3 separate regions of the Homo sapiens genome follow, and regions 2 and 3 are each linked to region 1. The links are contacts of gene promoters, found by promoter capture Hi-C in blood cells and fetal thymus (Javierre and others, 2016). All regions are on one chromosome and are shown on one strand. The core of a region is centred on a gene start or on the middle of the fragment in contact, and the rest is flanking DNA. Distances in the headings are between cores, read along the strand shown.

Region 1 (4,274 bases), core at 1,475-3,974:
GTTAAATTGTAAGACTGGGTTAAATACTGGAATTCATGTATATATTTGGTGGGGTCTGACGAGAAGGAGCCTAAGTGTTGATTAATTTGGGAAAGGTCTGATAGAGAAAATGGTACATGCACTCTGACGATGCCCTCAGTTCCAGCCACTTCTTGAAGAGGAAATTATTGGGCAGGTGGGGGAGTATTTGCCGCAGAACGAAATTGTAAGCTGGACCAGGTGTGGGGAGGGGAGATGATAGAAGGGTTGTAGGGTGGGGAAGTGGAGGCTGAGGAAGAGTTGGAAGCTGATTCAGCCTGGTGGGGAGCGACCTGAGGAGGAGCAGTCTAGGGAGGAGGGTAGAAGTCAGATGGGTCGGTAGAAAAGAAATATTCAAAAGACTCACCGGCACTTCAGGTTGGGACTGAAGGGACAGGCGGGAGGGAAAGAAGGAAGATTTGCGGCAAGTCGCACTGGGAACAGAGATTAGGGAAGGAACGAAGTGTAAAAAATGCCTGGATGTAGGGCACCTCAGACCATTTGCCCATTTTATGACAAAAATTATCTAGATCTTGTAGGCTGGAGAAATCGAAAGTGCTCTTTTCTGGCCATTTAGAGCCATTATCAAGTTTGTATTGGGGCCAAGTGGTGTTGCAGAAGAAAATAAGACACTTAGGTTTTAGGTCAGGTGAGAGTTGAAGAGGTTTTAAGTTTTTAAGAACACAGGCTAAGAGAGGAAGAAGAAGGAATGGAGGGCTGAAGGTTGCCCATAGTAAAAAGGTAAGTTTAGAGAAAGGAGGAGGTTGAGACATGGAGAGAGGGGGGGTGGTACTTGCCACCCAGGGGAAGTGGTACTTGCCACCAAGGTGGAAGATCAAAACAGGTGTCCCCGCAGTGATCGAACACCTCTGAAATGTGGGTGAATAATCAGGCAGGCGTCCCTGCAGTGACTAAACACAAGGGAAGACAGTCTTCCCGAGTCCATGACCAGCGCCAGAGTTTTGGGTCCACAGATAAAACGGGTCTCCTCTGTCTCTACCAGACAGGGAAAGGAACCGAAATTAAGGGAAGGGAGAGACTGAAGGGTGGTGCCGAAATTGAAAGGAGAAAGAGGTTGAGGGATAGTGAAAGAGGTTGAAGAAGAGAGTAGAAAGAGGCCACTTACCCGATTTAAAATTGGTGAGATGTTCCTTGGGCTGGTCTGAGGACCCGAGGTCGTAGGTAGATCTTCCTCACGGAGCAAAGAGCGGGAGGACAGGGGATTGATCTCCCAAGGAAGGTCCCCCGATCCAAGTCATAGCACCAAATGTCAAATGCATCCGTGTGAAGAGACCACCAACAGGCTTTGTGTGAGCAACAAGGCTGTTTATTCACTTGGGTGCAAGTGGGCTGAGTCCGAAAAGAGAATCAATGAAGGGAGATGGGGAAGGGGTTGCTTTATAGGATTTAGGTAGGTAATGGAAAATTACAGTAAAAGGTGGTTGTTATCTATTGTTAGCAGGGGAGGGGGTCACAAGGTACATGATGGGGAGATCATAAGACTTATTGTCCAGAAGAAGAATGTCACAAGGATGGTTGATCAGTTAAGGTAGGGCAGGGACCAGTCACAATGGTGGAATGTTTGTTAATCAGTTAAGGCAGGAAGTGGCTGTTTTACTTCTTTTGTGGGTTTTTGGCTGCCCCAGACTTCTTGGCTCCCGCAGGCCATCTGGACGCATATGTGCAAGTCACAGGGGTTACAATGGTTGAGCTTCGGCTGAGAGGCCTGACAGCAGAGACTGGAAAATTGCTTAACAGAATTATAAATTCCTTCTTTCATTACTCAAACCTTTTTTTTTTTCTTTTTGAGACGAAGTTTCGCTCTTGTTGACCAGGCTGGAATGCAATGGTGCGATCTCGGCTCACTGCAACCTCCACCTCCCAGGTTCAAGCGATTCTCCCCCCTCAGCTTCCCGAGCAGCCGATTATGCTGCCTCAGCCTTCCCAGTAGCTGGGACTACAGGCACCCGCCACCACGCCCAGCTAATTTTTTGTATTTTTCGTAGAGATGGGATTTCACCATGTTGGCCAAGCTGGTCTTGAACTCCTGAAGTGATCCGCTCACTTCAGCCTCCCAAAGTGATGGGATTACAGGCGTGAGTGACGGCGCCTGGCCTCATTACTCAAACCTTTAGGGAACACCTCCTCACTCAGCCATGTGTAACGACGTGAAGACCCAGAGGTGAAACATTTTAGGGTGCTGCCTCCGAATCTGAATTTCAACAATAGACTAAAACGATCCAGTCCTGGGCTTCTCTAAATTCTTTTGTTGCTGGCCAGACCTTAATTTTAGGCTTTGGAGGGAGTGTCTATGCGAATGAACGACTGAAAACTCAGAAAACGAAAACTAGCTTTTATGGAATTTCAATTAATTACGTTTATCAAAACTACGCATCATGCCCATTTGTGGGTATTGGATGAAAAGATAAATCTTTCCAGAAGGGGCAGGGGAGGGAGAGGCAATTCTGGTTGGGGAAGTTGGGAGAAAAGAAAATCAGTATCTCCTAGTCTTCGCCCAGTTTGGCTCGTTTGGGGTACTCCTCGACCCCGCGTTACCAGGCCCGTGAATCCCACTCCCACCAGAGAATTAGCGCGGGCGGACGAGCAAAGTGAAACTTAGTAGCCCGGAACTTCGCGTGCCGGGTTCCCGCAGCAACACGTACCGGGAAGCGTTTGGGCGCTGCACCGCGCTGCGCCGTGCCCGTGAGTCCGGCGCGCAGAGGAGGAGGAGAAAGCTGACCGCTTAGGCCGGGGTAGTGGTCGTCGTGGTTTTCCTTGTAGTTCGTGGTCTGAGACCAGGCCTCAAGTGGAAACGGCGTCACCATGATCGCACGGCGGAACCCAGAACCCTTACGGTTTCTGCCGGATGAGGCCCGGAGCCTGCCCCCGCCCAAGCTGACCGACCCGCGGCTCCTCTACATCGGCTTCTTGGGCTACTGCTCCGGCCTGATTGATAACCTAATCCGGCGGAGGCCGATCGCGACGGCTGGTGAGTGCTGCGCGGCCGGGATCGGCTGGGAGGAGAAGGGGTCGTAGGGCTGCAGACTGGCCCGGCCGTAGGCCCCCCTGAGGTGCTCTGCTTTTCCGTGCCTTTTTGCCTAGCTGGCCCCATCTCGCCTTTCCGGGGAGTCCGCGCCCCATTAGCTCTTTAGAATCAAGCAGAGCCAGAGTGTCATTTGGCACTTGAAGAAACTGAGGTGCAGTGAAGCAGGAACTGAGTCTGTGAAGGACCCGAAACTACTCTCCTCAGTTCGTGTTGTGCTGTGTGCGCAAATGAGCCATGACTCCATGCCATGCACTACTCACACTGTGGGCATTATTGATAGCATTTCGGCCTTAAAACACTTTTAGGGATGTATTATTCACAACGAGGAAACCGAGCCTAACAGATTAACAGCAGCTTGCCCAAGGTCATATGGCTATTAAGTAGCAGAGCTTGGTTTTTTTTTTTTTTGACCTCTGAATGGATATTGGACACCAGTGCTTCTCAAACTTAATGTGCATACGAATAGCATAGGTGTCTTGTTAAAATTCGGATTCTGGGCTGCGCGAGGTGGCTCACACCTGTAATCCCAGCGCCTTGGGAGGCCGTGGCGGGCGGATCGCCTGAGCTCAGGAATTCGATACCAGTATGGGCAATAGGGCGAAAACCCGTCCCTACAAAAAAATACAAAAGTTAGCCGGGCGTGGTGGTGCACGCCTGTGGTCCCAGGCTGAGGGAGGCTGAGGCAGGAGGGTCGTTTGAGCCTGGAAGGCAGAGGTTGCAGTAAGCCGAGATTGCACCATTGCACTCCAACCTGTGCAACAAAGTGAGACCCTGTCTCAAAAAAAAAAAAAAAGCGGATCCTGATTCATGAGGTCTGGGGAGGAACTTGATGTTAACAACAAGCGCTCAAACACTGCTGCTGCTGGTCTGAGGACCACGGTTTGAATAGGAGGCTCTAAACCAGTGTGCTGTACTTCCCAGTAGTATGTCACTGGCTTCCTATCAGAGACACTGACTATTCTGATAATAACCACCACAGTAGCTTTGCTAAGCTCTATGGATTTCCAGAGGGAAAAGAGGAGAGGAACTTTGGAAGAGGGGTCTTTGAAGTTAACTTTGATTATCAGGCAGGACTGAGAGACAGACAGCTTTCTAGGCCCGTGGGGCTAGTGGGAGCTAATGGGGGCAAGGACCTCTGAATGGAGGGTGTTTGATGATTGAGTGAGTGTTCAGGTTTAGATAAAACTGCAAGGGAGATTTTAGCAGAGCA
Region 2 (4,335 bases), core at 1,505-4,004, 510 kb before region 1:
GCTTCTGGGTGGGACAGGAGCAGTGGGTAGGTCCAGATGGAGCCACCATTGGTCTGTGGATCCTGATGGGGTCACACGTGTCAGACATGCAGGAAACCTGAGAGGATATTTCAAAAGGCCAATCTTAGGTTCTACAATAGTGACGTTATCTGCAGGAGCAACTGGGGAGGTTGCAAATCTCATGACCTCTGGAATAATGGCTGGCAGTCATTTATGTCTACACCTTAGTAAAATTCAGGGTCCTCTATCCTCCTAGCCTGGTGACCTCTCAGCTTTATAAAGGTGGTTGAGTTTTGGGGGAAGGGTTATTTTCACTTAAACTTTAAACTAGATGTCTCCCAAAGCCAGCCCAGGAATAATCAAAGGCAGCCCAAAGGCTAAAATAAAGGCAAGACGGGGGTTGACTAGATCAGATCTCCCCCATTGACATAATTTTCTCTCTGATACAATTTTGTAAAGACAGTTTCAAGAAATTACACAAACCACTTGTGCTATATTCTATTTACCAGAACACAGTTGACTGTTACATGACCACACCTACCTGCAACGGAAGCTGAGAAATGTCTTTGTGGGGGGTGGGGGAGGGACATGTACCCAGCTACAATTCTGGGCTTCTGTTATTAAAAGGAGGAAAATGGATATTGGATAATACTAGTACATTTTACTCTAATGAATTTAAAATATTGTTTTCTGAGTCCAGGGGCATCACTTCAAAACTGTGACCCATAAGCCTCAGATGGGCCCCAATTCTGCCTGGCAATCTTTCTCTAGTCCATTAACTCTCCCACTCTCCTAAATGATCCAAATAATTCTTTCATAATCTTTTTCCTCTTTTCAAAACTCTAACATCTACTTTGCCATTCTCTCTCTCTCTCGTGTGTGTGTCTGTCCATCCGTCTTTCTCTACAGAAAACCTTCCTTCCTATTTCATTGTGAAATAGAAGCAAATTAAAGAGGATGTCTCTACAAGTTCCCACTATCATATATACCCCCACATACCCATCAATCTTCATGTGCGCCCATGTCCTCTACCTTCTCTGTGCTAATATAAAGTGCTCATGATGTTATCAGCTAAGGCTAGTCCTCCACTTGAACACTAGATCACACCCCCTTTCACCAATTCAAACTCATCAACACTAGGAATTTTCTTCTGTCTTTCCTGTGTCAAGTTTTCCTCTCTTCTAGATCTTTCCCTTCCGGTTTCTGGTCTAGCAAGTAAGGAGCTTGGAAGTCATCACTCCTGTCTTCACAACAATAAAAAAGCTAAATAAACTGAAAATCAGTTGAAGTAACAGGGCACACTTCTGTCCCCCAAACTGGAGAGACAAATGGGTAAATACAGAGAATCACAACTTACTGGAATAGAAGCCCAGGGGCAGAAAACTCTGCAAGAACGAGTACTGGGGAACGAAAAACCCAAACTATAATAGATGAATTGCTGGAGGCTCTGTGTGGACAAGTTTGAAAGTTAAAAACTCCAGGGCATGTGGCCAGTCATACTGGATTTTACCTCCACTTTCGTGAGTTTTACCTCCAAGAACCCTACCAGGTTCTCAGGGTGAAGATCAGCAAAAAAAAAAAAAACAAAAAAAAAATCCTCATGCTTCTGGCAAGAGGAGGGGAAAAATAGCCATTCGAAATATGCCAAAGTGTCCAGCTCTTCTTAACAAAGCCTGCTCTCAATGGAAACTATGTTATCAGAGGCTAGCTGACTGGATTTTACCAGAGACTAATCACAGGAGAAGGAAAATACCCAACTCCAGCCCCTTTTTGCCAACTAAAGCGGGAAAGAACTGAGAAGCGCTTGTGAAAGGTGCAGCCCAGGAGCACAGGCTCGCTAAAGTCTAAGACCTAATCACAGGTCTATAGAATTCTTCCTCTCTCTCCACACCTCACCACTATATCAACAGGACTTATCTGTATGATAATAAGGGAGTACAACAGAAATAACTGCATGTTATTTCTGAGACCTCCCAAGAAGTCTCTAGGGAAATCCAAAGATAACAGGTGAGACAAAAACAAGGACACCGGAGGAAATTTTTGCCTCTGACTCCCACAGCTACAACAAACAGTAAACACAGCCTAACTTCTAACTAGATAAATAAGATAAATATACAACTTCCCACTGAAGACTTATTTACAGGCCGGGTGTGGTGGCTCACACCTGTAATCCTAGCACTTTGGGAGGCCAAGGAGGGTGGATCACTTGAGGTCAGGAGTTTGAGACCAGCCTGGCCAACATGGTGAAATCCCATCTCTACTAAAAATACAAAAATTAGCCCAGGTGTGATGGCTCGTGCCTGTAGTTCCAGCTACTTGGGAGACTGAGGCTGGAGAATCACCTGAACCCAGGAGGCGGAGGTTGCAGTGTGCCGAGATCACGCCTCTGCGCTTCGGCCTGGGTAACAGACCGAGACTCCATCTCAAAATAAATAAATAAATAAATGAAAATAAAGATGTATTTACCTCAGTTCCTTTTATCCACTACATTGTGTCCAACTTTCAACAAAAAAATTAAAGATAAAGATTAAAAAAAATAAAATTACAAGATAAACTAAAAGACAAAAAAAAAAACACAGTTTGAAGAGACAGAGCAAGCATTAGAATCAGACTCAGATATGGCAGAGATGTTAGAATTATTAGACCAGGAATTTAAAACAATGGTGATTAATATGCTAAGGGCTCTAATGGAAAAATCAGATCTTTCTTATCACCAGACAAACATGCTATTATTTCTCACATATTAAAGAAGTCCGCTTTCATGACCACATTCTTCCACCAGTTACCACCTCAGTTTTTCTGCTCCCCTTACAACAAAACTTCTTGAAAACCCTGTCTCCAATTTCTCTTCTCCCATTCTTTTTTACATACCATTTTTATTATAGAAAAATCTCCAACATGAATAGTACAATGAATTCCTGTGTATGTTACCCAACTTCAATATTTTTCAACATTTTACCAGTCCTATTTCATCTATTCCATCTATACTGTTTTATTTTTTTTCTGAAATATCTAAAACCAAATTCTAGATATCACATTTCACCCATAAATTCTTTAGGATTGTATCTTTAACAGCGAAGAATTTTGTGCATAATTCCTCAATATCAACTAATATTAGGAATTAAAGGACGTCATTACAGATCCTACAGACACTGAAAGAATAATATGAACAATTTTATGCCAAGAAATTTAGCTGCTTAGATAAATTTCTCAAAACATACAACTTACAAAAACTGACGGAAAAAGAAATACAAAATCTGCACAACATCATATTTATTAAACATGTTAAATCTGTAATTCAAAACCGTCTCATAGGCCGAGTGCAGTGGCCCATGCCTATAATCTCAGAACTCTGGAAGACTGAGGAGAGGGGATTGCTTGAGCCCAGAAGTTCAAGACCAGCATGGGGAACATAGCAAGACCTTGTCTCTAAAATAATTAATTAATTTAATTTAATTTAACTTTCTCATGAAGGAAGCTCTAGGCCCACATGACTACACAATGAATTATATTCAAACACTTAAAAAGGAAATAATATCAATCTTAGAGAAACTCAAAAAATAATACTCTGTGCTGTTGAACTATTTTTATGTCTTTAAAAAATATATCTTTTCTCTGTTGACTTAAGTCATAATCCAAGTAAGCATTCATGCATTACATTTGATTGCTATGTGTTTTATTTTTCCTTTAATCCATAATGTCTCCTCTCTTTTTTTTGAGATGGAGTCTCGCTCTGTCGCCCAGGCTGGAGTGCAGTGGCATGATCTTGGCTCACTGTAACCTCCGTCTCCTGGGTTCAAGCGATTCTCCCACCTCAGCCTTGCAAGTAGCTGGAATCACAGGCACGTGCCACCATGCCCAGCTAATTTTTGTATTTTTAGTAGAGATGGGGTATCACCATCTTGGCCAGGCTGGTCTAGAACTCCTGACCTCAAGTGATTCACCGGCCTTGGCCTCACAAAGTGCTGGGATTACAGGCGTGAGCCACCACGCCCAGCCTCTCTTAGCCATTTTCAAGTACACAGTACATTATTATTAGCTGTAGTCACCATTTTTACAATAGATCACCCGAACTTACTTGTGTCTAACTAAAACTTTGTACCTTTTTATCAGCATCTCCCCATTCCTCATAACCAGACCCTGGTAATCACCATTCTACTCTCTGCATCTCAGATTGACTGTTTTTAGAGTCATAAGACCATGCAATATTTGTCTTTCTACGCCTTGCTTATTTCACGTAGCATAATGTTTTCCAGGTTCATTCATGTTGTCACAAATGACAGGATTTCCTTCTTTTAAAGAGCTGAATAGTATTCCATTGTGTGCATGTACATT
Region 3 (3,773 bases), core at 683-3,182, 540 kb before region 1:
TTTTTTTGTTCTTGTTGTATCAAAACAAAATTGCATCACTTGAAGAAATTTTGTATTGTTAAGGACTGGTATGATTTTTTCTTCATTTAATCTTTTCTTAAGCATGTAAAACATTTACATGGTTTCAAAGTCAAAACTATATAACCTAAATTTACAGAAATCTCACTACTATGCCTATCTTCTACATGCTGTTCTCTCTCTCTTCACATGGAACACCTTAATAGATTTTGGTTTGCTATTTTATTTTATTCTATTTTATTTTATTTTGCAAAAATTGGCATACTAAACCTTGTTTTGTACCTTAATTTTTCCCCCACCTAACAATATATTCTAGAAATCACTCTATATCAATACACAGTGATCTTTTCATCAGTTTTCACGGCTTCCTAGTACTTCATTGTGTGGTTGTACCATCATTTCTTCAACTAGTCCCCTATTAACAAACATTTGAGATATCCCCAATCATTTGTTATTATAAATTAAATCACAATGAAATGCATAAGTTGTATTTTATTTTTGTTGATAATATCTTTGGAATCACACTTCTGGAATCACACTTCCATACTTCTGGAAGTAAGATTGCTGAGTCAAAAGGTAAATGAGGCCAAGCTTGGTGGCTCATGTCTGTGGTCTTAGCACTTTGTGGGGTCAAGGTGGGAGGATCACTTGGGGCCAGAGGTTCAGGACCAGCCTGGGGGCCTTGGTGACCCTGTCTCTAAACAACAATAAAAAAGTAAATGAATTTTGCTAGTATGTTGCCAAATTCCATTCCAAAGTTGTGTCATTCACAATTCTCCCAGAAATGTGTTAGAGTGCCAGAGTGCCTAATTCCCATACAGCCTTCCCAATAGACTATGTTGTCAAAATTCTGGATGTTTACCAATCTGATAAATGAAAACTGATAAATCAACAACATAAGCAAGTTTTAATTTGTATATCTCATGACTGAGGTTAAGCAAGTTTTCACATATGGAAAAGCTTTTGTTTCTGTAAAATGTATGTTTCTATCTTTTGTCCACTTTTCTAAATAATTGTCCTTTTTTCTCAATTTTTAAAATATTTAGGCCTTTATTTGTCGTTTGAGTAGCAAATATTTTCCTAGTTGTCATTTGTCTTTTAACTTTGTTTGCAATGAGTTTTGCTGTGCAAAGGAATTTTTAATATACAAATTATCAATATTTTCTTTCGTTTCTTCTCAATTTTGAGTCACATGAAAATTATCTCACTGAAGTTGTTAATGTGGTAGGAATGCTTAAGCAAACTGTAATTGGCAAATCACTGGAGGCTCCCTGTGTACTAGTTTGAGAGTTAAAACTCTGGGGGCTCAATTTTAGGGAGATCCCCACACTTTTATGAGTTTGTCCTTAGGAACCCCACCAGGTTCTCAGAGAAAAATCCTTTCACGCTTCCACCAGGGGGAGGAAAAAGCAATGATTGTGAAATACACCTACAGCATTCTGTTCTTCTTAACAAAAGCCTTCCCTCAGGGAAATTATTTTCCAGAGCCTTACCTACCCAGAGAATGAAAAATACCCAATTCCAAAACCTTCTAGCCTTCTTGCCCTACCTAAGGGAGGAAAAAGAGCTGAGAAGCACTTGGGAAGGTTATAGCCCTAGGACATAGGCTCAATAAAAGACTAGCAGAATAAGACATAACATTAGAATTATAGAATGCTTCCTCTGTTGTGATGGTTAATATTGAGTGTCAACTTCATTGGATTGAAAGATACAAAGTATTGTTCCTGGGTGTGTCTGTGAGAGTATTGCCAAAGGAGATTAACATTTGAGTGGGTGGACTGGGAGAAGCAGATCCACCCTCAATCTGGATAGGCACCATCTAATCAGCTGCCAGCATGGCTAGGATAAAAGCAGGTAGAAGAAGAATATGGAAGGACTTGACTTTACTGAATCTTCCGGCCTTCCTCTTTCTCCTGTGCTGGATACTTCCTGTCCCTGAACATCGGACTCCAAGTTCTTCAGCTTTTGGACTCTTGGACTTATACCAGTGGTTTGCCAGGGGATCTCGGGCCTTCAGCCACAACTGAAGGTTGCACTGTTGGCTTCCCTACTTTTGAGGTTTTGGGACTTGGACTAGCTTCCTTGCTCCTCAACTTGCAGACCGCCTATTACGGGACTCACCTTGTGATCGTGTGAGTCAATACTCCTTAATAAACTCCCCTTCATACATATATCTATTCTATTAATGCTGACCCTCTAGAGAATCCTAATATACCTCTCCTTACCACCACATCAGTCAGGCTCCTACATAATAACAGGGGATTACAACTGAAATAACTTCAAGGCTCAGGCTGGCTTTGGAAGGAGTCTCTAAAGAAATCCAAAGACAGGCTGGGTACGGTGGCTCATGCCTATAATCCCAGCACTTTGGGAGGCTGAGGCAGGTGGATCACCTGAGGTCAGGAGTTCGAGACTAGCCTGGCCAACATGGCAAAACCCTATCTCTACTAAAAATACAAAAATTATCTGGGCGTGGTGGCGCATGACTGTAACCCCAACTACTTGGGAGGCTGAGTCAGGAGAATTGCTTGAACCCAGGAGGCGGAAGTTGCATTGCGCCAGTGCACTCCAGCCTGAGCAACAGAGTAAGACTCTGTCTCAAAGAAAAAAAAAAGAAAAGAAGGAAAAAAATCCAAAGACAACAGGGAGACAGAAACAAGGACATTAGAGCAAGTTTTAGCCTCTGACACCTACAGCTATGGCAAATAGTAAACCTAACCTAGCTTTTAGCCAGATAAACACAAAACCTCACGATACAAGCCTATTTAACTCAGTTTCTTTTAGTCAATACATCATGTCCAGCTTTGAACAAAAATGGCAAGGCATGCTAGAAAGCAGAAACATAGTCTAAGAGCTAGAACAAGCTTCAGAACCAGACTCAGGTATGACACAAAATTTGGAACTATCAGACAAGAAACTTGAAAGAACTATAATTAATATGCTAAGAGCGCTAATGAAAATGTTACCAACATGTAAAACAGATGGTTATGTAAGCAGAGAAATGGGAACTCTAAAAATAATTCAAAAGGAATCTTTAAAATCAAAAAAATATATAACAGAAATGAAGAATGCCTTTGATGGCTTCACCAGTAGACTGGACACAGATGAGGAAATAATCAATGAACTTAAAGATATGTCAATAAAAACCCCAAAATGAAAAGCAAATTGGAAGCAAGTGGAGGGGGGGAGGAATAGAATGTAATAGCCAAGAAATGTGGGGCAATGACAAATGGTATAACATACATGTAAAGGGAATATCAGAAGGAGAAGAAAGGAACAAAATAATTACTCCAAATGACTAAGAATTTTCCAGAATAATGATAGACACCATACCACAGATCCAAGAAGCCCAGAAAACACCAAGCAGGATATATATCAAGACATTTACACACAGGCATATTATATTGAAACTGCAGAAAATCAAAGACAAAAAGAAAAAAAATTGAGACAGGGTCTCACTGTTTCACTTGGTCACCCAGGTTTAAGTACAGTGGCACAATCATAGTTCACTGCAGCCTCGGCCTCCTGGGCTCAAGCAATACTCACACCTCAGCTTCCCAAGTAGCTGGGACTACAGGTGCATGCCACCATGCCGGGCTAACTTTGTTATTATTATCTGTAATGACGAGATCTTGCTTTGTTGCCCAGGCTGGTCTTAATTTCCAAGACCTGCAGGGTGAGTCGGGAAGTTAGAGACTCAAGAGAGCCAATTATGTTGTTCTGGTTTGAGTCCAAAGGACTGAGACCCAGAACTG

Evidence for each region. Contacts are between HindIII fragments. The CHiCAGO score rates a contact against its expected background, and 5 or more counts as called.
Region 2: a fragment that was not itself captured here is called in contact with the fragment with the promoter of NDUFC2 in region 1 in 1 of 17 cell types (neutrophils); the score reaches 9.4 in neutrophils.
Region 3: a fragment that was not itself captured here is called in contact with the fragment with the promoter of NDUFC2 in region 1 in 1 of 17 cell types (neutrophils); the score reaches 5.1 in neutrophils.

What each region holds. Positions count from the first base shown.
Region 1 is chr11:78,078,312-78,082,585 of GRCh38, reverse strand. NDUFC2 (NADH:ubiquinone oxidoreductase subunit C2) reads left to right here and starts at 2,724. Exons shown (of 3, transcript NM_004549.6): 1 at 2,724-3,007. The coding sequence starts at 2,842. NDUFC2-KCTD14 (NDUFC2-KCTD14 readthrough) reads left to right here and starts at 2,724. Exons shown (of 3, transcript NM_001203262.2): 1 at 2,724-3,007. The coding sequence starts at 2,842. It overlaps LOC105369401 (a long non-coding RNA gene), which reads right to left and starts at 1,391. Exons shown (of 3, transcript XR_950342.2): 1 at 1,145-1,391. RefSeq lists a silencer at 2,552-2,741 and an enhancer at 2,945-3,004. The HindIII fragment of the contact is 4,740 bases long and covers 1-4,274 here.
Region 2 is chr11:78,590,671-78,595,005 of GRCh38, reverse strand. No RefSeq gene overlaps it. Among named protein-coding and RNA genes, the nearest start is that of NARS2, 18 kb to the right of the region's middle. The HindIII fragment of the contact is 7,888 bases long and covers 1-4,335 here.
Region 3 is chr11:78,613,579-78,617,351 of GRCh38, reverse strand. No RefSeq gene overlaps it. Among named protein-coding and RNA genes, the nearest start is that of NARS2, 41 kb to the right of the region's middle. The HindIII fragment of the contact is 1,904 bases long and covers 981-2,884 here.